Linked DNA regions of Homo sapiens: regions 1, 3, 4, 5, 6 and 7 are each linked to region 2. Evidence: promoter capture Hi-C in 16 types of primary human blood cells and fetal thymus (Javierre and others, 2016). All regions are on one chromosome and are shown on one strand. The core of a region is centred on a gene start or on the middle of the fragment in contact, and the rest is flanking DNA. Distances in the headings are between cores, read along the strand shown.

Region 1 (2,835 bases), core at 292-2,791, 1.2 Mb after region 2:
TTCACATCTTACTAGATCTACTGCCACCATCTTACCTGCAGTCACTGTCATTTCTTGCCCAAACCAGAAGTCTAAAAATAGAACAAAACCAATCAAGGTCCAGAAGATATCAGAACTTTGATTTATATTTACTGTATCATATATATGTAATTTAGTTTTGTGTTTATTTCATAATGTACATTCTGCTTGGCAATATTGATAATGATAGCCCACATTTAATGAGCACCTATAATTAAACAGACACTATTCTAAGCACTATTCATTCATTAGCTCATATAGTTGTTCCAATAACCAGATTGGGTTGCTATTTTTATTATTATATTTATTTTGCAAATGAAAAAACTGAGGCACAGAAAGCTCAAATGCCACAAGATCACATAGCTAGTAGCAGCTGTGGCAGACAGAGGTGGGCTGTACTTATTCCCTTGCAAGAAAGGATGCCTTGCCTAGCTGTGAGAAGGTGGTGGGCTGACAGCTTCCACTTGTTCTTTCTGGTCTCCTTCAGTTCTTCCCAGTGCAGCCCCAGCCAATGACTGAGCAAGGTTTAGGCACTTCCACCCAAAGCAGGATTCCTGTAATGGGCTCTTTCCTCTAGAGCTCCCCTTTAGGCAGAGAGGCTTTTTCTACTTGATCTACTTCACGGTTTAATGGCTTCCTCTGACCAGTCCTGCTTCTAAGAAAAGAAGTTTCTTGTGAAAGTAGAAGAAATTCCTTTCACAAGTTTACCCAAATATGCCTGTTTGTCCTAACTGCATCTCCGCATCTGCTTCTCAGTAGACAGAACTAGCAGTGTGATGTGGTTTGGCTCTGTGTCCCCACCCAAATCTCATCTTGAATTGTAATCCCCACAATCCCCATGTGTCAAGGGAGGGACAAGGTGGGAGGTGATTGAATCATGGGGGCACTTCCCCCCATGCTGTTCTCATGATAATGAGTGAGTTCTCAAGAGATCTGATGGTTTTATAGGGCAGTTTTCCCTGCTCTTGCTCACTCTCTCTCATCTGCTTCCATGTAGGACATGCCTCTTTCCCTTCCACCATGATTGTAAGTTTCCTGAGGCCTCCCCAGCCATGCAGAACTGTGAGTCAATAAAACCTCTTTTCTTCATAAATTACCCAGTCTTGAATATGTCTTTATGGCAGTGTGAAGATGAACTAATAGACAGCATCAGAACAGGATCCAATGCCTAGGTAATTTAAATGACTTTTCTATGCACCCCAACACCCATACCTCCTTTCTGTCTGTATTTTCACACCATGCTGGCATTTTTGGATTTGGAGTCCGATTTGCCTGTCTGTGATAAAATATATATAACACAGAATTTGCTATTGTAATCATTTTGAAGTGTACAATTCAGTGGTGTTAATTATAGACACCCCTCAGTATACAAGTGGGATTAATTCTAGAACTCCTCTGCCCCCAACATATATCCAAATCCTGTATACTCAAGTCCTGTAGTCAAGCCCTGTGGAACCTATATACATGAAAAGTTAGCCCTCTTTACACTTGGGTTCACATTCTGCAAATACTGTGTTTTCAATCTGCATTTGGTTGGAAAAAATCTTTCTGTAAATAGACCCATGCAATTCAAACCCATGTTGCTTAAGGGTCAGTTGTACATTCACACTGTTGTGCTACCATCCTCATGATCTGCTTCCAAAACCTTTTCATCACCTCAAATAGAAACTCTGTAATCATTAAATAATAATTGGAGTCTGATTTTTAGATACTAAAAGTAAACTGAGCTCTATCAGGACAGTAACGCTATTTTACTTATCTCCATCTATAGTATCTTAGTAGCGCCTTGCAGTTACTAGGCAAACAAGATATTGCTTATTAAACTGAAGAATTAAAAGAAAATTCCTACTGAGATAACCTGAAAAGACTTCCTGGAAGAGGTGATATTCTAATAAGATTTCAGTAGGTGGGGAGGAGGGAAGGGCATCCTATGCCAAGGGAAGAGTAGGGAGAGGGCAAACTGTTGATTGTCAACCCAAAGTCAATGTTTCCTTGCCAGAACTGCAGTTTTGTTTAGGATAGCGAAGTGCACAACTAACACATATATACACATTTTCTAGCCTCTCATTCAGATTGAGGTAGCCATTTGACTGAGTTGTGACCAATGAGGTGTAAGCAACGGACTAGTGGGGATTTCTCAGTCTGGTTGATATACCTGATACAGGTAGAGACATTTCCTTTCTTCTTCTTCCTTCTACTTTTTGTCTGGAATATAGATGTCATGGCTGAAGCAATACTAGCTGACTCACAGGCATTAGGAAGGTGCCTGGAAAAATGTGGAGTCAGTGGTCCTGACACTTTTAAGCCATGGGACTAGAAGTTCTAGAGTTCTCTCTCTCTCGCTCTCTCTCTCTCTGTGTGTGTGTGTGTGTGTACACATACATGTGTGCATATGTGTAATGCCTAACTGTAAAATGTGGTTGAGTTTTTACTTGTTTGCAGTTAATGCAAGTCCTAACTGATACAATGGTTAAAGGCAGGGAGACTTGTATCTGAGACTGAGATATCAGAGAAAGTTTGTTAAGAAAGGCTATCCAACAAAGTAAACAAGATAAAGTACCTACTGAACAATTACTATGGCCTAGAATGCCAGCTTCTATGTATTTGATGTGCTCTGGCTGTTACAGAAGATAGAGTAAAGGAAATCCCATTGAGGGTGACTTGGAAAAAGCCCCTATAGAGGTAAATAAAATAATGAAGAAAATAAATGAAGTCTTTGGGCCTGGTCAGGTACTTTTTTTCCCCTCCCTGGGAAAATAGAATTTGCCAGTGCTGAAGCCAGGAAATTTAGGGCTGGAAACCAGATTCCAGATTGGA
Region 2 (2,700 bases), core at 173-2,672:
CAAATGAAAATTCAGCTGAACAGTTAGCTAATTGCTTTTAACTCACAAACCCTAAATATTTGCATTCCACTAAAAGCAAAAGTTATTTACTTACAAAGTGTAAATGCTTTAAATTATGGCTATTTCCAATAGGCTTCACACATTTCCATAAACCTAGATTTCTCATTCTTTGGAATTAGATGCATTAGATCACTAGGGAATCTCAACCGATTACAGCCTCCTGATCCCGTCTGTTTACATTCCATCTGCACACACTCCCCTAGACGCAACTAAACAACTGGTTTGGGATGAGCATCATCAACAGCACCTTGTGGCTCATCAAACACCATCTTTACTCAATATGGGTTAAGAACCACACCTGAATGCCAGCACTGATATCTAAGTAACTCTAAGAGGTGGGATGTCATTTTGCTGACTGGAATATTGAACAATCTGGGGACAGATATGCCTGTCCAGACCCAACACAAATTAACAAAAATCCTAAACACAGATAAATCCTAAAGAAAAATGTCAACTCATTTTCTTTAAAGAAAATGCTGTCCATTTAGAGGAGGAGAGGGCCAGCGAGAAAAAGGGAAAACGACCCCCGACTCCCAACACATCTTTTTCTCCATACGGGAAATACAAACATCTCTTTGAAGCGGCTTCTACAAAATCGGATGTTCTAGAGTCCTGAAGGAGCATTGGTCCGGGAACTAAAACAGCCAGCCACCTCCTGGCCACCTGTGTCCAGGTAGAGCAAGGTAGTTTGAGGATGCAGGGTTAGGTTTCGGAAAGGGTCTTCACGCCCAAGCGGACCAAGGCAAGAGAGTCGGCGATCCAGAAAGTGGAGGGCTCGGGCGCTGTTCAGGGGGAGAAAATGGGGCAGCGGGGAGAAAAGAGGATGGGTGCTTGGTTCATATCCCAGCTGTTAGGGCACCAGGCAGGTCGAATCCTCTGGTTGAGACCAGAGCCTCCACTGTTACGCTCCCAGAGCTTCCTTTACCCCCACCCCCGGACACCAACCCGCGCCCACACACCTGCCCGTCGACCCGCAGGTGGCATTCTCTCGGTCAAGGGCACGAGGTGAGAAGGGCAGGGTGCGCCGGGACCCTGTGCAGGTAGCCCCAGCTCACCTGGGAGAACCGGGCGCCCCAGGCTCCTCGCCTCGGCCCCCTGGCCCCCTCGCCCTCTCGCCTCCTCGCACTCACCCAGATCATGAGGCTGTCGCACAGGGGCAGCTTAGGCTGCGGCGGCGGCTGCGTCTCCTCCATGGCCGGCGCCGCCGTCGACGACGCCGCGGACACCTTCACACTCCCTCCTACCGGCTCTCCTCCAGGAGCCGGCGTCCACGACCTGCTAGCCCCCAGGAAAGCTCGGTACCAGGCCCGACCCGCGCAGCTCACGCGCGAACCCTCGCGCTGTCGACGCGTCCGGCGTCACCCCCTCCTCACCCGCCCCCGCCTCGCTCCAGCGTTCGCCCCCTCCCCTTCCTGGGCCCCGGCCGCGCTGCCAGGCACCTGAGCCCCGCCTTCTCCCACCCCTCCCCTCCTCCCACCCGTCCTGCCCACTCCCGCACACCTCGCCCCGCCGCCCTGAGTGACCTGGCCGCGCACCAGTCACAGAGACGGTAGGTACCCGGGGGGGCGGGCGGGGCGGGGCGGGGGCGGGAAGAACCGGGATAGGTTGCGCAGGGGGGATTGCTGATTGGACGTGCCCTCGTGGGCTCTGGCCAATCAACGTGAGACAAGCCTGAGCCTTGGGTAGAGAGTGAGAGTGGGTGGGAAGAGGTTTATGACCTGGCAGGTGCAGTGAGGGCGGGGGTGGGAGGTTGCGCGCGGGAAGCGAGCGCGCGTGCGCGGCGGGGATTGGTAAGGCTGAAGCTCAGCCCCAGTGGCCGAAGAGGCAGAGGGGCAGCAGGGCACCGGCTGGGCTCAGGCGTCTTCCCTCCTTCTTCGCGGTAGCACGCCGCCTCGCTACACCTGTGGAGGGCCCACACTCTGCTTCCACATTGTCTTCAGAAATAGATCCTACCGGCTGGGCGAGGTGGCTCACGCCTGTAATCCTAGCACTTTGGGAGGCTGAGGCGGGTGGATCACCTGAGGTCAGGAGTTCGAGACCCGCCAGGCCAAGATGGCGAAACCCATTCTCTACTAAAAATACAAAGATTAGCCGGGGGTGGTGGCACATGACTGTAATCCCAGCTACTCAGGAGGCTGAGGCAGAAGAATCGCTTGAACCCGGGAGGCACAGGTTGCAGTGAGCCGAGATCATGCCACTGCACCCCAGCCTGGACAAAAAACCGAGACTCTGTCTCTAAAAAATATATAAAACAAAATAAAGAAAGAAAGAAATAGATCATACCCATGAATTAAAACTCTTCGAGGAAGGAAGAGCTGATTTCCTCCTAGGCACTCATTGGAAAGGGATGTTTTCATTTGCACACGTGGCAAATATGCCACATTAATAAGGAAAATAGAATCCGTCAGTGCTCCTTAAATAAGCTCTCACGGGACCATAGATCATGAGCAATTTTATTTTACATGGGGCAAAAGGGAAGACCGTTTTCAAGTAGCAAAATAAACGAAATGTTTTGAAAAACATGGAAGATATTAATGTATCCATTTTCCTTTGTCAGTTGAAAATTTGCTTTTTCCGAGAATGTTGTGGGGTGGAGGGGGGTCGGGGGAGGTGACCTGAAATTGGAAGCTCTCCAAGGTA
Region 3 (2,700 bases), core at 39-2,538, 1.2 Mb after region 2:
CAACATAACTTGGGTAATTATGAGGCGTCAGCGGTGTTACCACTTTATATCCTGAGTATTTTTATCACTACGAGTTGGGTAGCAACTGCTCAAACATTTTCATCCATCACCTTGTGTTCTCTTCTGTGGGGTTCATACATGGAAAACAAAATGAAAAAAAAAACCAAAAAACAGAAAAAACAGGCAAAAGGGTAGAATCCATTTAAAGATGACTAAGGTGCCTTAGTCATGCTGGATTTGAGGTCCAGCAGTGGGATGGGTTCTGCATTTTCTGGGCAAGTGATTTTTCTGTCAGGCAAACAGGACTAGGTGCATCATCCACAGCCCTGCCTGAGGGGAGCCAGGAGAGACAGGTCCAGCTCCAGCCCACACCCAGGACCTTTCTCCACTTTGAAAGATGCCTGTGAATTGCACTTCCGTTTCACCCAGGAAATCAATGCAGCCCAGCTTCTCTGCCCAGGGCCCAGCGGAGGAAGATATATCATACTCTGGGCAGACCCAGAATGCAGTTAGTTACCGTCTCCTCCTTAGGAGGGAGAACAACAATAGAACCAAAATAGCAATGCTAAAAAGCAGACATTTGGAGGGCTTGGGGGCCTTTTGTTGCTGCAAAAGGAGAAGGAAAGGATTTTGCCATGTCCCTGGGGTTTACGCGTTCAAGAGCCCTCCCTCCTGATCCAGGGACCTGGGACAGGCTGTGGGACCTGCAGGGCTCTATGTGGCATGAAGTTCCTTCTGGTTTTGTAGAGAGACAGGGCTGTACAATAGGAGCCCTGGATTTCTGGTCAAAAGCTTTCTTGGTGAAATAGATCTGGACAGGAAGAGAAGAGAGAAAAGGCACTCTAGGCAGAAGGTGCCCCGGAAGCGGTGGCACAGTGCCAAGAATTGTAGATTTCCGTGAGGCTGGTGTGCATCGTGTGTGGCTAGGAGTCGGGGACCACAGAAGGGGATGTGGACATGGGGTCAGGTCCCCCAGGGTGTCCAATGCTATTTTAGAGAGGGGTGCTTTCATGTTCCTCATGGAAAGAGATTCAGGCAATCAACAGCCAACATCTTCAAATCCTAAAATGAAAAGGTTTCTCTAAGCCAGTAGTATTCAGACTTTTATTTAGTTAGAAATCGCTGTTGAAAACAAATCTTGCATTAAAACCAAGCATATAAAACAAGTAATAACCAAAAAATAGAAAAAACCCAACTGGATATCAACTGATAAATGGATAAATTAAACATGGTCTACCCATACAATGGAATTATTATTCAGCCACAAAGAGAAATAAAGCACTGACATATATTACAACATTAATGAGCCTTGAAAACATTATGCTTAGTGAAGAAGTCAGACATAAATGACCACATTTTGTATTATTCCATTTCTAGAAAATGTCCAGAATAAGCAAATCATAGATAGAAAAAGTAGATTAGAAGTTGCCAGAGTCTCAGGTGGGAAGAAGGGATTGGGGAGTGACTGCTAATGGATACAGGATGTCTTTTTGGGGTGATGACATGTTCTGGAATTAGTGGTGATGGTGACGGTTGTACAACCTTGTGAATATACTAAAAACCACTCCGGATACTAAAAACCACACTTAAAAGTGGTGAACTTGATGATCTATGAGTTACATCTAGAAAGAGAGAGAGACGGAGGGAGAGAGGGAAGGAAGGAAGGAACCAAGCAGAGCCGATTTGGCTGAAGGGAGGAGGCACTGGGAAGTACAGTGGCCCTTATGGTTGGCCCTGTTTATTTCCAATGTCTGCCCAATCTCTCACCCAAGTTTTAAGCTTGGCTTCCAGATCCCTGGGGAGCCAAGTAGGAGAAAAGATATAGACACCTCAAAATTGAGCATGTAAACTTTCACCTAATCCTCCAATTTTTCCCCACTCCAGAAAGGTTCTGCTTCACTTTCTCCAGAGACTGACCAGGCAGCGACTACCCTCTTGGGGGTGAGATGGTCAGTAGCCTGCTAAGGAAGCAGGAAGCCACTAAGGGATAACTACATCTTAAACCCACTTTCTCTCTCTCTCTCTCTCTCTCTCTCTCTCTCTCTCTCTGTGTGTGTGTGTGTGTGTGTGTGTGTGTGTGTGTGTGTGTGTGTGTGTGTGTGTTTGAGACAGTCTCACTGTGCCACCCAGGCTGGAGTGCAGTGGTGTGATTTCGGCTCACTGCAACCTCCATCTCCCAGGTTCAAGCGATTCTCCTGCCTCAGCCTCCTGAGTAGCTGGGATTACAGGCATTCACCACCACGCCTGGCTAATTTTTCTATTTTTAGTAGAGATGGGGTTTCAACATGTTGGCCAGGCTGGTCTCCAACTCCTGACCTCAAGTGATCCTCCCCCGGCAGCCTCCCAAAGTGCTGGGATTACAGGCGTGAGCCACCGTGCCTAGCCTTAAACCCACAACCCACCTTCTACCAGCTATCATCATTCTAGCCCCACTGGCATCCCCAATTCCAGATGTCCCTGGTGCTACAAATTCTTGAGCTTTGGGGGTTCCACAAGGTAAATCAGGTCACTTCTTGAGGGTCTGCTTCTCCCACTCTCCAGACCTGCTAAGTCAGACCCCATGCATTGATTCATTATTGTCACGTCTCTCAAAACAAAGCCCCCCTACTACCTTGCTGTGCTTGAGTGATGTTTCAGGAGGGCATGGGATTTCATTGTGTGTGACCAATCCATTAACCCAAATCCAGCATGCTTTTCTAT
Region 4 (2,885 bases), core at 316-2,815, 1.1 Mb after region 2:
AGTTGGTATGCCCAATTCGTTTCATTAAACATTTATTGGAAGAGGTTCTGATATACCAATTAAAATATTGTTCTAAGCATTAGACATTAGACACACATGTGTTCTAAATATATATATTTTTTGTAACAGCTAGTGCAGTAGAATGGATAGAATGTGTGAATGTGTACGTACTGGCTTTGTTACTTTAAGCAACTACTTAATCTCACAGAATCTCATGCTTTTTTAACTTACGAATTGTGAATAATAATAATACCTCCCTCAAAGTATTGTTGTAAGAAAGAAACGAGATAGACTATATAAAGATGCTAGTACTAGGTATTCAGTAAGCCTTGCATGCACAAAGTACTCAAACTTGAGTTCTCTTTCCTCCTCCGCATTCCCTGCCCTCAACTTCTCACCTGAGTACTATTCTAGGCACAGTAATTAGTAATTCATCCTTCCCATAAGGGGCTTGTATTTCTAATAGGAAAGACAAAACCTATGGTAAGTTCAATAAGGTTGGTCCCAAGAATTGTAAGTTTCTCCCAAAGGCTGTGATCAGGGCAGGTTTCGTAGAGTATGTGGGGTATAATCTGATCTGAAGGATCTGCAGAAGAATCTCAAAATGGAGATGAATACACTTTAGGCTGAGGGAACAAAGCTGGAGACATGGGAAAATACTAGATATATTCTGGAAAAGGTGCATAGTTCATTTGGACTAGGGTGTAAGTTGGTCGTAGAAATGGAATAGAGATTTACTTTATTTTATAAACACTTATAAAGGGCTTACTGTGTGTCAGACAATGTCAGTATTTTATAAACATTAACTCAGTCTTCACAATAATACCATGACAGTGGTATTATTGTTTACTTTTTATTATTAATTTTATTGTTCCCATTTTTAAAGATGAGGTAACTGAAGCATGAAAGCTTTAGAATTTGCCTAGGGTCACCAAGCTAGTAAATAACTGGGCCAGACATTCTAGATCCAGAATCTGTTCTTAATCATTACTCTGCACTGTCTCTCAGTTGTGAAAGAAAACTCAACACAGTAGAATATGGTAAGTAGAAATGGGAAATAAAAGACTCAGGTGATTCTGACGTTTTTGAACCTGGGTGACTGGTACCATTGATTGAAATGGGCAAATCAAGAGAAGGAGTAAATTTTCAGTTTGGGATGGCCGTGTCTTTTGAAACAATTTTTTAAAAATACTGTCCAGTCTTTCTACATGTTGGTAGCAAAAAGGAAGCCCATCTATATCAATTTAGTCTCTCTTGTCCTCACATGCCCTTCAATTTGATTTTAAAGGACTATTTTTATTCTGCCTCTTAGTAGATGATGGACTCCTTAATCAATTGGCATTTTGTTTTAGCATCTCTCTGCTGAGGAGTTGGCAAAAAGAAGAGAAGAGGAAAAAGGCAGACCTGTTAAATCTTTAAAAGTGCCAAGACCAACAAAAAGGTGTAGTGTTATATAAATGTGGTTTTTAAACATTTATCACAAATGGCTAGATAATATATGAAAAAATATTCAATAGCTGCATTATATTGTTCACATTAAGTTTAAAAAAATACTGCTACAATTTTTTAGATTTTTTTTGTTTCACTGATTATGAATTTGGAAGACCTTGAACAAACATTTTAAATTTGTTCAGATTCATTGAACATATGATCCAACATATGTTGTAAAGGGGCCCTGTTTAGGACAGGTTGGTCATTCAACTCTAGACGCTATGGACAGGAACCTTCATGAAATGACTGGGTTTTCTTTGGGTGGTACTAATTGTTAGCAAGTTGTTGCATGGTTTGTTGTTTTCTAATGCATGTGTAATCTAAAATTTGAGCCTTTTAAAATTAAGGGTCACCAAATAAGTTAAATGTTCCGATTTTCTATTCCCTCTTCCTGCAGATGCCCCATTGAATAGACTGTAGTTTTGTCAGTGTACCTTTTAAAAGAAGATATCCAGGAATGCCACTAGATCATATTTTTGCCTGATAAATGTCCTCGGGTAATCCTTAGGTTCTCATTTATTAAACAATAATTTAAATAACACTGTTAGCTGTATTTTAAGCACTTTATATTTATTAGCTCATATAGTCTTCATGACAACCCTGTGCATTAGTTAATGTTCTCACTCCCATTTTATAGATGAGGAAACTGAGAGGCATAGAGAGGTTTAATAACTTGCTCACGCTGTCAAGTAGTGGAGCTGTTGATTTTAAACCCAAGTGTTAAGCTTAAGAGTTCATACCCCTAATCATTACAGTATATATTACCTCTCTAAAGTAAAAATAAAACTTACACAGTTGTCGTGAGACTGAATTAGATAAACTATGTAAAAAATAGTCCTCCATAAGCTAGGACTCCTCATCCAGTATCCAGATAATTGATTTTCTGACTCTAAATGTGAGACTTATATTTATTGTGATTTTCAAGTCATTGTTCAAGGTCTTCAGGATCTTTTTGAATCCAGATCCACTTTTCTCATTTTAGCCTTTGTAGCACTGTATCATTAACATTTCAATAAGCTTGCCTTTCCTGCCATTACTCACTGATTGCAATGTTTAATTGAATAAATGTAAACCTCATTGTATATATTTAAACAACGAAGACATTCATTCTTCAATCAGCTATATAGATTACCACAATTAACGCATATATCTTCATCTTATACAGAAGGATAATCATATCGGATGTCTTGTTTAATTTCAGATAAAATATATTTAAGTCTTTAGTTTCTAACAGATTATTCCTATCAATAGTGTCTACAATAAGGTCTACTTATCATGACTTTTCATGAACTCATTATTTTACTTAGTCACCTCTTCACTTGGTTAAGGATCACAAATCAGCTGTTTCATAATTTTTTCTAGAATTTTACTACTGTTCAACATCTAGTTCCTCC
Region 5 (2,834 bases), core at 332-2,831, 1.1 Mb after region 2:
GCAATTCTCCTGCCTCAGCCTCCCAAGTAGCTAGGATTACTGGCATGTGCCACCATGCACGGCTAATTTTGTATTTTTAGTAGAGATGGGGTTTTTCCATGTTGGTCAGGCTGGTCTCGAACTCCTGACCTCAGGTGATCCACCCAACTCGGCCTCCCAAAGTGCTGGGATTACAGGCGTGAGCCACCGTGCCCGGCAGTAGTTACTATTTTAAGTGGTGATATGGTTTGGATCTCTGTTCCTGCCCAAATCTCGTGCTGAATAGCAATCCTCAGTGTTGGAGGTGGTTGGATCATGGGGGTGAAATTCTCATGAATGGTTTAGCACCATCCTCCCTTGGTACTGTGTAGTGAGCCAGTGAGTTATCATGGGATCTGGTTGTGTAATGGTGTGTAGCACCTCTCCCCTCTCTCTCTTGCTCCTTCTCTGACCATGTAAGACATCCCTGCTTCCCTTTCACCTTCGACCATGATTAAAAGTTTCCTGAGGCCTCCCTGGAAACTGAGCAGATGCCAGCATCATGCTTCCTTTACAGCCTGTGAAACCATGAGCCAATTAAACCCTCTTTTCCTTATAAATTACCCAGTCTCAGGTATTTCTTTATAGCAATGCAAGAACAAACTAATACAAGTGGTATGGGATGGTTGATGAGTGGAGTCTCCAAGAATCTATTAAAGAGAAGAGGGTGAGTGGCAAGCAGGCCTGAACAGATCTTGGAGAAACTGGGATATGAACTAATGACTTGGCATTTATTCTATGGGCCAAGAAATTATAAACTTTCCCACTGAAACACCTCTTATGGCGGAAAGAGCAAACTTGTGCTGCTAAGGTAATATGTTTGGATCTGTGTTCCCTCTGCAAATCTCATGTTGAGCTGTGATCCCCAATGTTGGAGGTGGAGCCTGGTGGGAGGTGATTGATCATAGGGACAATTTCTCATGAATGTTTTAGTACTGTCCCCTTGGTACTGTCCTCAGGACAGTGAGTGAATTCTCATGAGATCTGGTGGTTTCAAAGTGTGTGGCACCTCCCCCTTCCCTCTCTCTTGCTCCTGCTTTTGCCATGTGAAGTGCCTGCTCCCTCTTTGCCTTCTGCCATGATGAAAATCTCCCTGAGGACTCCCCGGAAGCAGATGCCACCATGCTTCCAGTACAGCCTGCAGAACTGTGAGCCAATTAAACCTCTTTTCTTGTAAATTACCCTGTCTCAGGCATTTCTTTATAGTAATATGAGTATGAACTAATATGCAAGGGTTCTGACACCAACTGCTACAACTAAAAAAAAATTCTTTGAAATATTTCAGCCCATCCAAATTTTTCATCTTGGCTATAATATATTCATTTGTTTTCATGTAAAATGATGTTTTTAGTTACTAGCCATCACGTAAAATTAGCATTTTAAAGTGATATTATGTTTAGCTTATGGCTCTGGGACCTGGTCACATACAACAGTTTGGGGAGCACAACCTGAGACAACATGAAGATATTGAACGGCTTTGAGGAACAAAGTAAAATCCAGAAGTTGCTTTTCTGAATTATCTCTGAGCTGCTGTGTAAAAGCGGGGAGATTTGTTTGAAGGCTACTATAACAATCCAAGCGAAACATGATGAGACACTGAAGGCAGACCCTGGCAGGGAGTATGAGAAGAAAGGAACCAATACAGGGAATGAAGAGAGCTTGGGCAAGTCCCTTCACTCCAGAACTCAGCAGAATAAACAGGTTGAACCATATGACAGACAAGGCCCTCCCCAGCCCAAAGATATTGTCACTTTTCTCTGCTTATCTTTACTTTCCCTTATGCTTGCCTCTTAATCTATTATAAGTATTCATAGTTTATTTCACTCAAAAGCCAGCTAAGGGACTTTAGCTGCTAGTTTTGCCAATGAGACAAAATTGTACAGACTTGTTTGTTTTACCTGTTAATATCCCAAGGAACTGTTGTTCTGCGGGACACTCTTTTTTATTTATTTATTAATTTTTTGAGACGGAGTCTTACTCTGTCGCCCAGTCTGGAGTGCAGTGGCGTGATCTCGGCTCACTGCGAGCTCTGCCTCCCGGGTTCACGACATTCTCCTGCCTCAGCCTCCCGAGTAGCTGGGACTACAGGCGCCCGCCACCACACCTGGCTAATTTTTTGTATTTTTTAGTAGAGACGGGGTTTCACTGTGTTAGCCAGGATGGTCTCAATCTCCTGACCTCATAATCCGCCCACCTCGGCTTCCCAAAGTGCTGGGATTACAGGCGTGAGCCACCGCACCTGGCCTCTCAGACTTGTTTGTTTTAAAGGAGGAGAGGAAGTTCTAGATATAAGCAGAGATTTTTTTTTCTTTTTTTTTTTTTTTTTTGAGACAGTGTCTCACTCTGTCACCCAGGCTGCGGTACAGTGGCACAATCTCGGCTCACTGCAACCTCCGCCTCCCTGGTCCAAGCGATTCTCCTGCCTCCCAAGTAGCTGGAATTACAGGCATGTGCCACTGCACCTGGCTAACTTTTGTATTTTTAGGAGAGACGGGGTTTCACCATGTTGGCCAGACTAGTTTCGAACTCCTGACCTCAAGTGTTCCACCTGCCTTGCCTTCCCAAAGTGCTGGGATTACAGGCACGAGCCACTGAGCCCAGCCTATGCAGTGATATTTTGACATAGGATTTGAGTAATTTCCAATTCCAGTTTTGTAACATGTTACCTGACATGTAAAGGCACTCAATAAATAACTGTTGAATTACCGAAGTAATGAATGACGAGTTACGTATTTCAATGCATTCAAAACTTCTTATGGGAAGTCTTCCCTTACATTATCTGTGCAACTTGACCTCATCTTGGCCCTTCTGCCATA
Region 6 (2,762 bases), core at 144-2,643, 1.1 Mb after region 2:
CTTGGATAAGTGGAAAGTGTGATTCCCCATTTTCAGGATGCTAAAAACAGTTCAATGGAGTTAAGCGGCTTGATCCAGGAAATACAGTTTGTAGGTGGTGAAGACAAACAGCTATGTCCTCTGAGTTGACATTTCGCTTTGGATTTTACCAAAAATGAAAGGAGGCAAGAGAAAGACGGAAGAAAGGAGAGAGAAAGCTAAGGGGGAACTAAAGAAAAAGAAAAGAGTTAGTAAGCAGAGAGCTTGCCATTTTTCTGGGATATATCATTTGAAGGGAAGGAAACAAGTGCACACAGGATTTCCTCACCTCCAAGTCCTCAGGATGTAGCATGGCTGATGCAGCAAAGATTCTCAAAGACTTGGCATCTTTCCAGAGGCAAAGCACACCAGAGCAGGCACTTGCACCCGTGGCCATCTGAACTCCAGAGCTGCTTCAAATCACTTTCTCACTGGCAGATTCTTGACACTGATACTCTCTCTGGGTCATGGATACTCCTGTAAATGCAGATCATTAAAAAACCCAGACCAGCAAAGCTGATTGTGTTTACCGGGAGCAGAAAGGGGTGTTCTTTTCCCTCAAGTCATTCTTATGTGATTTTAAACTTTCCTGCTTGCACAACCTGAAGGGAAATCATTAGACTCAAGTTGTTATTTGGTTTTATTTATTTTTAAAATCATTCTGCAGCTTTAGAGTCCGTCTGTTCTACTCATTTAGCAGAGGAGGATGTGGGCAGGGCCAGATGATCTCAGATATAAAGTGAGATGCAAGAGTGTGATATTTATCTCAGGCTGAGGCTGACTGCAAAGGGCCATGATGGCCAGAAATGACAGAGCCCTCCTCCCTGCGCTACACAGCAGGGGCTGGTCCCCTGTGACCTTCTTAGGCACAACTCATTGCAGAGCTGGACCCTCACTTGAGTGGGGGCTGCTATGAACACTGACCTACAATGGCTGTTAAGGTCAAAGCCAGAGGAGGTTTGTATGCAGCACTGCTGAGAAAGACTGTTACCTGAGGCAGTGATACTTGTTAACCAGACCCCAGGCGAGCCCTTTCCACTTAGGATGTCATTATTTCATTTTGTCTCATACCATTTCGTCTTTCCAACAGCCTTCTGAAGTAGAGGTTCTTACCTACCATTACAGATGGTGAAACTGAGGCTGGAGAAGATGAGGACCTTCTAAAGGCACATGGCTAATAAATGGCACAGCCAGAGCTCCAGCCTGTTCACGTTCCACTCCACCATTCACTGTTCATGCCAGTGAACATCACCTTTTTCTTTCTGAGAATCCACCTAAGTTCTTAAATTAGAACAAGCCGTGATCAGACAAAATGGAAATAAAGATGAAATCCCTGCTGTAGAATGTAAGGGTGGGTGTGGGTCTACAGGCTGTCCTGGGAAGGGCCTCAGATGACTCTGTGCTCCCTCCCCCAGGCCCAGGCAGTCTCAGCCCCAGGCCAGGATGGGAAGATACAGAGGCCCAAGGAAAAAGGGGAAAGGGGCCCTTGCTCTGGGGCTAATGAGGTGTAACCACTGCACCCCCAGGCGACAGAGCCTTCCAACATCTCTGGCTCCTTTTATGCCAGATTCAAGCTAATGCTGAAAAATCCAAGTGGTCATATTATATTTTCAAAGGCTTAGTCGGATCAGTAAGAAGAATGCCCTGGAATCTTCACTGATGCAGTGAGGTCTGTTTCCAAGACATGGGGCCTAGAAGCCAAGAATCTCACTGAATCTCATCTGGGCTGCTTAACAGGGGAAAATCACAGCAAGTTCAAGGTGTTGGTGACTGTGATGGAAATGGGCTTCAGTGAGCATGAAATTAAATCAAATAAAAGCGTGGAAAACCTTGAAAAATCCCTTCCCATCTTAAATGAAAACACAGAAAATGTATATGAATAATTCCTTGATGTCCAGTTTTTTCTTCCAAAGTAAATCCCTCGAAGGGTTAGAACAGTTAGGGACAGCATGTGGCCTTCAAAACACACCCTCATATGTAAATAATTAACACAATATCTGTACTTTCAAAATTATTTTTACTATCATATTTTACCTAAACAATGACTTTCTAAAAACAGTTCTTGGCTTTCTCATAAATGTGATAGAAAACAACCTGTGGCATGGAGTTTATACGTAAAACACATTGTGGAAGACCTTCTACACTTTAAGTCCTCAAGTCAGAATAAACAAAAAGATGGCAATATGAGATTTTTGTTGATGCTCTTAGTAGGTCTATTTTATTATATTATGCAGGGTTCTAAAATAGATGATGAGATTCTCATCCTATGAAATGTCCTATGTCTGAGGTAGGACATTAGGAGCTGTGTCAAAATAGGTAAAGATAGAGACCTTGATGTGGCTTGGATGCAGTCTGTGTCCCCACCCAAATCTCATGTTCAATTGTAATCCTCAGTGTTGGAGGTGGGGCCTGGTGGGAGGTGATTGGATCATAGGGGCAGTTTCTAATGGTTTAATGCCATCCCCCCATCCCGGGTGCTGTTCTCAGGCTGTTGACTGAATTATCAAGAGATCTGGTTGTTTAAAAGTGTGCAGCACCTTCCCACCCCCACCTTCCTCCTACTGCAGCCATGTAAGATGTGCCTGCTTCCGTTTCACTTTCTGCCATGATTGTAAGTTTCCTGAGGCCTCCTCATTCATGCTTCCTATACTGCCTGTGGAAATGTGAGCCAATTAAACCACTTTTCTTCATAAATTACCCAGTCTCAGGTAGCTCTTTATTACAATGCAAGAGCAGACTAATAC
Region 7 (2,889 bases), core at 236-2,735, 1.1 Mb after region 2:
TCAGTAAATGGTGACTGTCATTTATAATCATTATAACATGTATTTTTCTTTACCAAAACAGAAGATAATTTCAAAAAGCAATAAATAAAAAGACAAATATATTCTCTTTTTTAATAGCCTTGGACCTTGGATAACACCATCAGTGAAGAGAACAGAGCTGTTATTGAGAAAATGTTGTTGGAAGAAGAGTATCCTTTAATGATTATGAGGAAAGTACAGGTTTCAGGGTGAAAAAAATCTATAAATGCAAAATTTACAAGAGGCCACTGTTTACTAGATGGATTTTATACAGCACCAGACTGCTATTATATAATTTCATGTTACCTATGTATGCAAAAAGCAGCATTTTCTTCCTCAGGTTCTGTTTTACTGTAACATCTGAGATCTGATTGCATATTTTGAGTTTCTGTCACTAGCCAACTGTTTATGATATCTGAATATTGAGTAGAAATGATAGAATATTTAAGTCATTTTGAACCTTAAGTCCAAGCTTGCATTTTTAAGTTATATAAGCTGAAACCCAGAGATGTTAATTTTCCAAGGGCACAGAGTTGGAACATGTAAAAGTTCTTCTCACTTCATAATTTACAGGTGTTACGTGGGAGGAATCTAAATAAAAAGCACAAAACAAATACTATAGAATGAAGATGTTTTCCCTACATTTGTGGATCCTTATTTATAGCTCAGTTTTCGTACATGTAAAAGGAGAGGATTGAATGAAATGATTTCTGATTTTATGATTTATAAAGATAGCTAGTCATAGTCTAATAAGTAGTGGTTTATTAATCTCCTTCATCTTCATTTTATGGATTTCTCCTTACTAAGCCAGAATTTCTCTGTTCCCACTATTTCCACTTATTGCCATGTTGATTTTAGAGTGTCTCTGTACCTTTAATTATCATAGGTTAACCCCATTTAGGCTTTCTTATTCTCTAATTCTCCCCAGACATTGCAGTTATAGCCTAGATTATTGCTATTCAGAGAAAGTCACATATAATTTAAAATTTTCCGATATCCTCATTTAACACAAAGGAAATTAATTTTAACTATATATTATATAACCTAAAATATTTAAAATATTCTCATTTTAACATTTAATCAAGATAAAAACATTAATGAGATAATTTTACATTTTTGTACTAAGTCTTTGAAATCCACTGTGTTTTGTTTTGTTTGTTTTTTGAGACGGAATCTCGCCTTGTCACCCAGGCTGGAGTGCAATGGTGCGATCTTGGCTCACTGCAACCTCTGCCTCCCTGGTTCAAGCGATTCTCCTGCCTCAGCCTCCTGAGTAGCTGGGATTATGGGCGCACACCACCACACCTGGCTGATTTTTTGTATCTTTAGTAGAGATGGGGTTTCACCATGTTGGCCAGGCTGGTCTTGAACTCCTGACCTCGGGATCTACCTGCTTCGGCCTCCCAAAGTGCTGGGATTACAGGTGTGAGCCACTGCGCCCGGCCAAAATCCACTGTGTTTTATACTTAGAGTACATCCTAGTTCATGCAAATAGTGTTTCCACTGGTCAGAAACCAGCGATGCACATGTGGTTGGTGGCCACTGTCTAGATAAAACACTTAAGTAGTCAGTGGTTCACTTCTAGATATGGAAACAAATAATGAGAGTATCTTTGTTCTCAGCATCTATACCTAGCATAGTACCTGACATATGCAGTAGATAGCCAATAAATACTTGTTAAGTGAAGAATATCTCAGGCTAATCTTAAAGTACTTCATCAGGCTAGTTTTTTGTTTTTGTTTTTTTTTTTTGAGACGGAGTCTCGCTCTGTCGCCCAGGCTGGAGTGCAGTGGCTCAAACTTGGCTCACTGCAAGCTCCGCCTTCCAGGTTCACTCCATTCTCCTGCCTCAGCCTTCTGAGTAGCTGGGACTACAGGCGCCCGCCACCACGCCTGGCTAATTTTTTCTGTTTTTTAGTAGAGATGGGGTTTCACCGTGTTAGCCAGGATGGTCTCGATCTCCTAACCTTGTGATCCGCCTGCCTCGGCCTTCCAAAGTGCTGGGATTACAGGTGTGAGCCACCGCGCCTGGCCTCATCAGGCTAGTTCTAATAACTTTAAGAGGGAAGTTCTCTGGTAGATTTGATCTAAATGTTTGCAATTTTTATTAAGGTAGAGAAGATCCTTGGATTCTTCTCTGTTGGCTTTAGAAATGTGGAAAATTATTCCCGAATTGCCTTGGACAACCAACCAAGTTTACCTATTACATTCTCCATATGTTTTGGAAGAAAATATTTAAACCAGGGTGTCCAGTCTTTTGGCTTCCCTGGGCCACACTGGAAGAAGAATTTTCTTGGGCCCCACATAAAATACACTAATGATAGCTGATGAGCCAAAAAAAAAAAAAAAAATCACAAAATAATCTCATGGTGTTTTAAGAAAGTTTACGAATTTGTGTTGGGCCACATTTGAAGCCGTCCTGGGCCACATGTAGCCTGCAGGCAGAGGATTGGACAAGCTTGATTTAAACATGGAGGCTGTTTCTTGTAGTCACTTCTAATTGGGAAGACAAGGGAACTATTAATAACATTTATGTAGCACACGTTTTGTATAAGTAATGTAAAAATTACATGACTGTAATATTGTTTAAAAAGTTTCCTTGATAGTTACACAGATATTATTTATCTAAAAAATCACAACCGGAAAAAGTCTGGCTTGATCAAAAGGAAGATGATAAAAAATACATGAAGAGGTAAAATCAATTTATAATATTTCTAAAAGTCTGGATTGTAGTTTTAGAAACCTCACACGCTTCCTTATTTTCTTTTTTCATGTGATGCAGTCTGCAGAAAACAGCAAAAATCATGTATGTACTTATATTTTATATTTATAAATCTGTTTTCATTAGTTAAAAATTATGGAATAATTTTTT

What was found. Contacts are between HindIII fragments. The CHiCAGO score rates a contact against its expected background, and 5 or more counts as called.
Region 1: a fragment that was not itself captured here is called in contact with the fragment with the promoter of HOOK1 in region 2 in 1 of 17 cell types (activated CD4 T cells); the score reaches 5.8 in activated CD4 T cells.
Region 3: a fragment that was not itself captured here is called in contact with the fragment with the promoter of HOOK1 in region 2 in 9 of 17 cell types (naive CD4 T cells, non-activated CD4 T cells, total B cells and 6 more); the score reaches 9.7 in naive CD4 T cells.
Region 4: a contact is called between a fragment that was not itself captured here and the fragment with the promoter of HOOK1 in region 2, in 10 of 17 cell types (total B cells, naive CD4 T cells, total CD4 T cells and 7 more). The highest score is 17.4, in total B cells.
Region 5: a contact is called between a fragment that was not itself captured here and the fragment with the promoter of HOOK1 in region 2, in 11 of 17 cell types (naive CD4 T cells, naive B cells, total CD4 T cells and 8 more). The highest score is 14.3, in naive CD4 T cells.
Region 6: a contact is called between a fragment that was not itself captured here and the fragment with the promoter of HOOK1 in region 2, in 9 of 17 cell types (naive CD4 T cells, total CD4 T cells, non-activated CD4 T cells and 6 more). The highest score is 14.5, in naive CD4 T cells.
Region 7: a fragment that was not itself captured here is called in contact with the fragment with the promoter of HOOK1 in region 2 in 10 of 17 cell types (naive CD4 T cells, naive B cells, total B cells and 7 more); the score reaches 22.5 in naive CD4 T cells.

The regions. Positions count from the first base shown.
Region 1 is chr1:58,608,573-58,611,407 of GRCh38, reverse strand. No RefSeq gene overlaps it. Among named protein-coding and RNA genes, the nearest start is that of TACSTD2, 33 kb to the right of the region's middle. The HindIII fragment of the contact is 3,858 bases long and covers 1-2,835 here.
Region 2 is chr1:59,813,671-59,816,370 of GRCh38, reverse strand. HOOK1 (hook microtubule tethering protein 1) reads right to left here and starts at 1,422. Exons shown (of 22, transcript NM_015888.6): 1 at 1,191-1,422. The coding sequence starts at 1,253. It overlaps LOC105378758 (a long non-coding RNA gene), which reads left to right and starts at 1,505. Exons shown (of 5, transcript XR_947426.3): 1 at 1,505-1,609. RefSeq lists an enhancer at 555-1,118 and a silencer at 1,355-1,954. The HindIII fragment of the contact is 6,303 bases long and covers 1-2,700 here.
Region 3 is chr1:58,647,928-58,650,627 of GRCh38, reverse strand. No RefSeq gene overlaps it. Among named protein-coding and RNA genes, the nearest start is that of MYSM1, 51 kb to the left of the region's middle. The HindIII fragment of the contact is 987 bases long and covers 795-1,781 here.
Region 4 is chr1:58,670,426-58,673,310 of GRCh38, reverse strand. MYSM1 (Myb like, SWIRM and MPN domains 1) reads left to right here. Exons shown (of 20, transcript NM_001085487.3): 12 at 1,353-1,441. Among named protein-coding and RNA genes, the nearest start is that of MYSM1, 28 kb to the left of the region's middle. The HindIII fragment of the contact is 1,307 bases long and covers 912-2,218 here.
Region 5 is chr1:58,732,653-58,735,486 of GRCh38, reverse strand. All of the region lies in intron 5 of LOC112268263 (a long non-coding RNA gene), which reads right to left. Among named protein-coding and RNA genes, the nearest start is that of MYSM1, 34 kb to the right of the region's middle. The HindIII fragment of the contact is 3,546 bases long and covers 1-2,834 here.
Region 6 is chr1:58,716,294-58,719,055 of GRCh38, reverse strand. LOC112268263 (a long non-coding RNA gene) reads right to left here. Exons shown (of 9, transcript XR_007066129.1): 4 at 1,136-1,299; 5 at 308-495. Among named protein-coding and RNA genes, the nearest start is that of MYSM1, 18 kb to the right of the region's middle. The HindIII fragment of the contact is 5,773 bases long and covers 1-2,762 here.
Region 7 is chr1:58,690,160-58,693,048 of GRCh38, reverse strand. MYSM1 (Myb like, SWIRM and MPN domains 1) reads left to right here. Exons shown (of 20, transcript NM_001085487.3): 3 at 118-188; 4 at 2,632-2,709; 5 at 2,800-2,823. Among named protein-coding and RNA genes, the nearest start is that of MYSM1, 8.5 kb to the left of the region's middle. The HindIII fragment of the contact is 1,985 bases long and covers 493-2,477 here.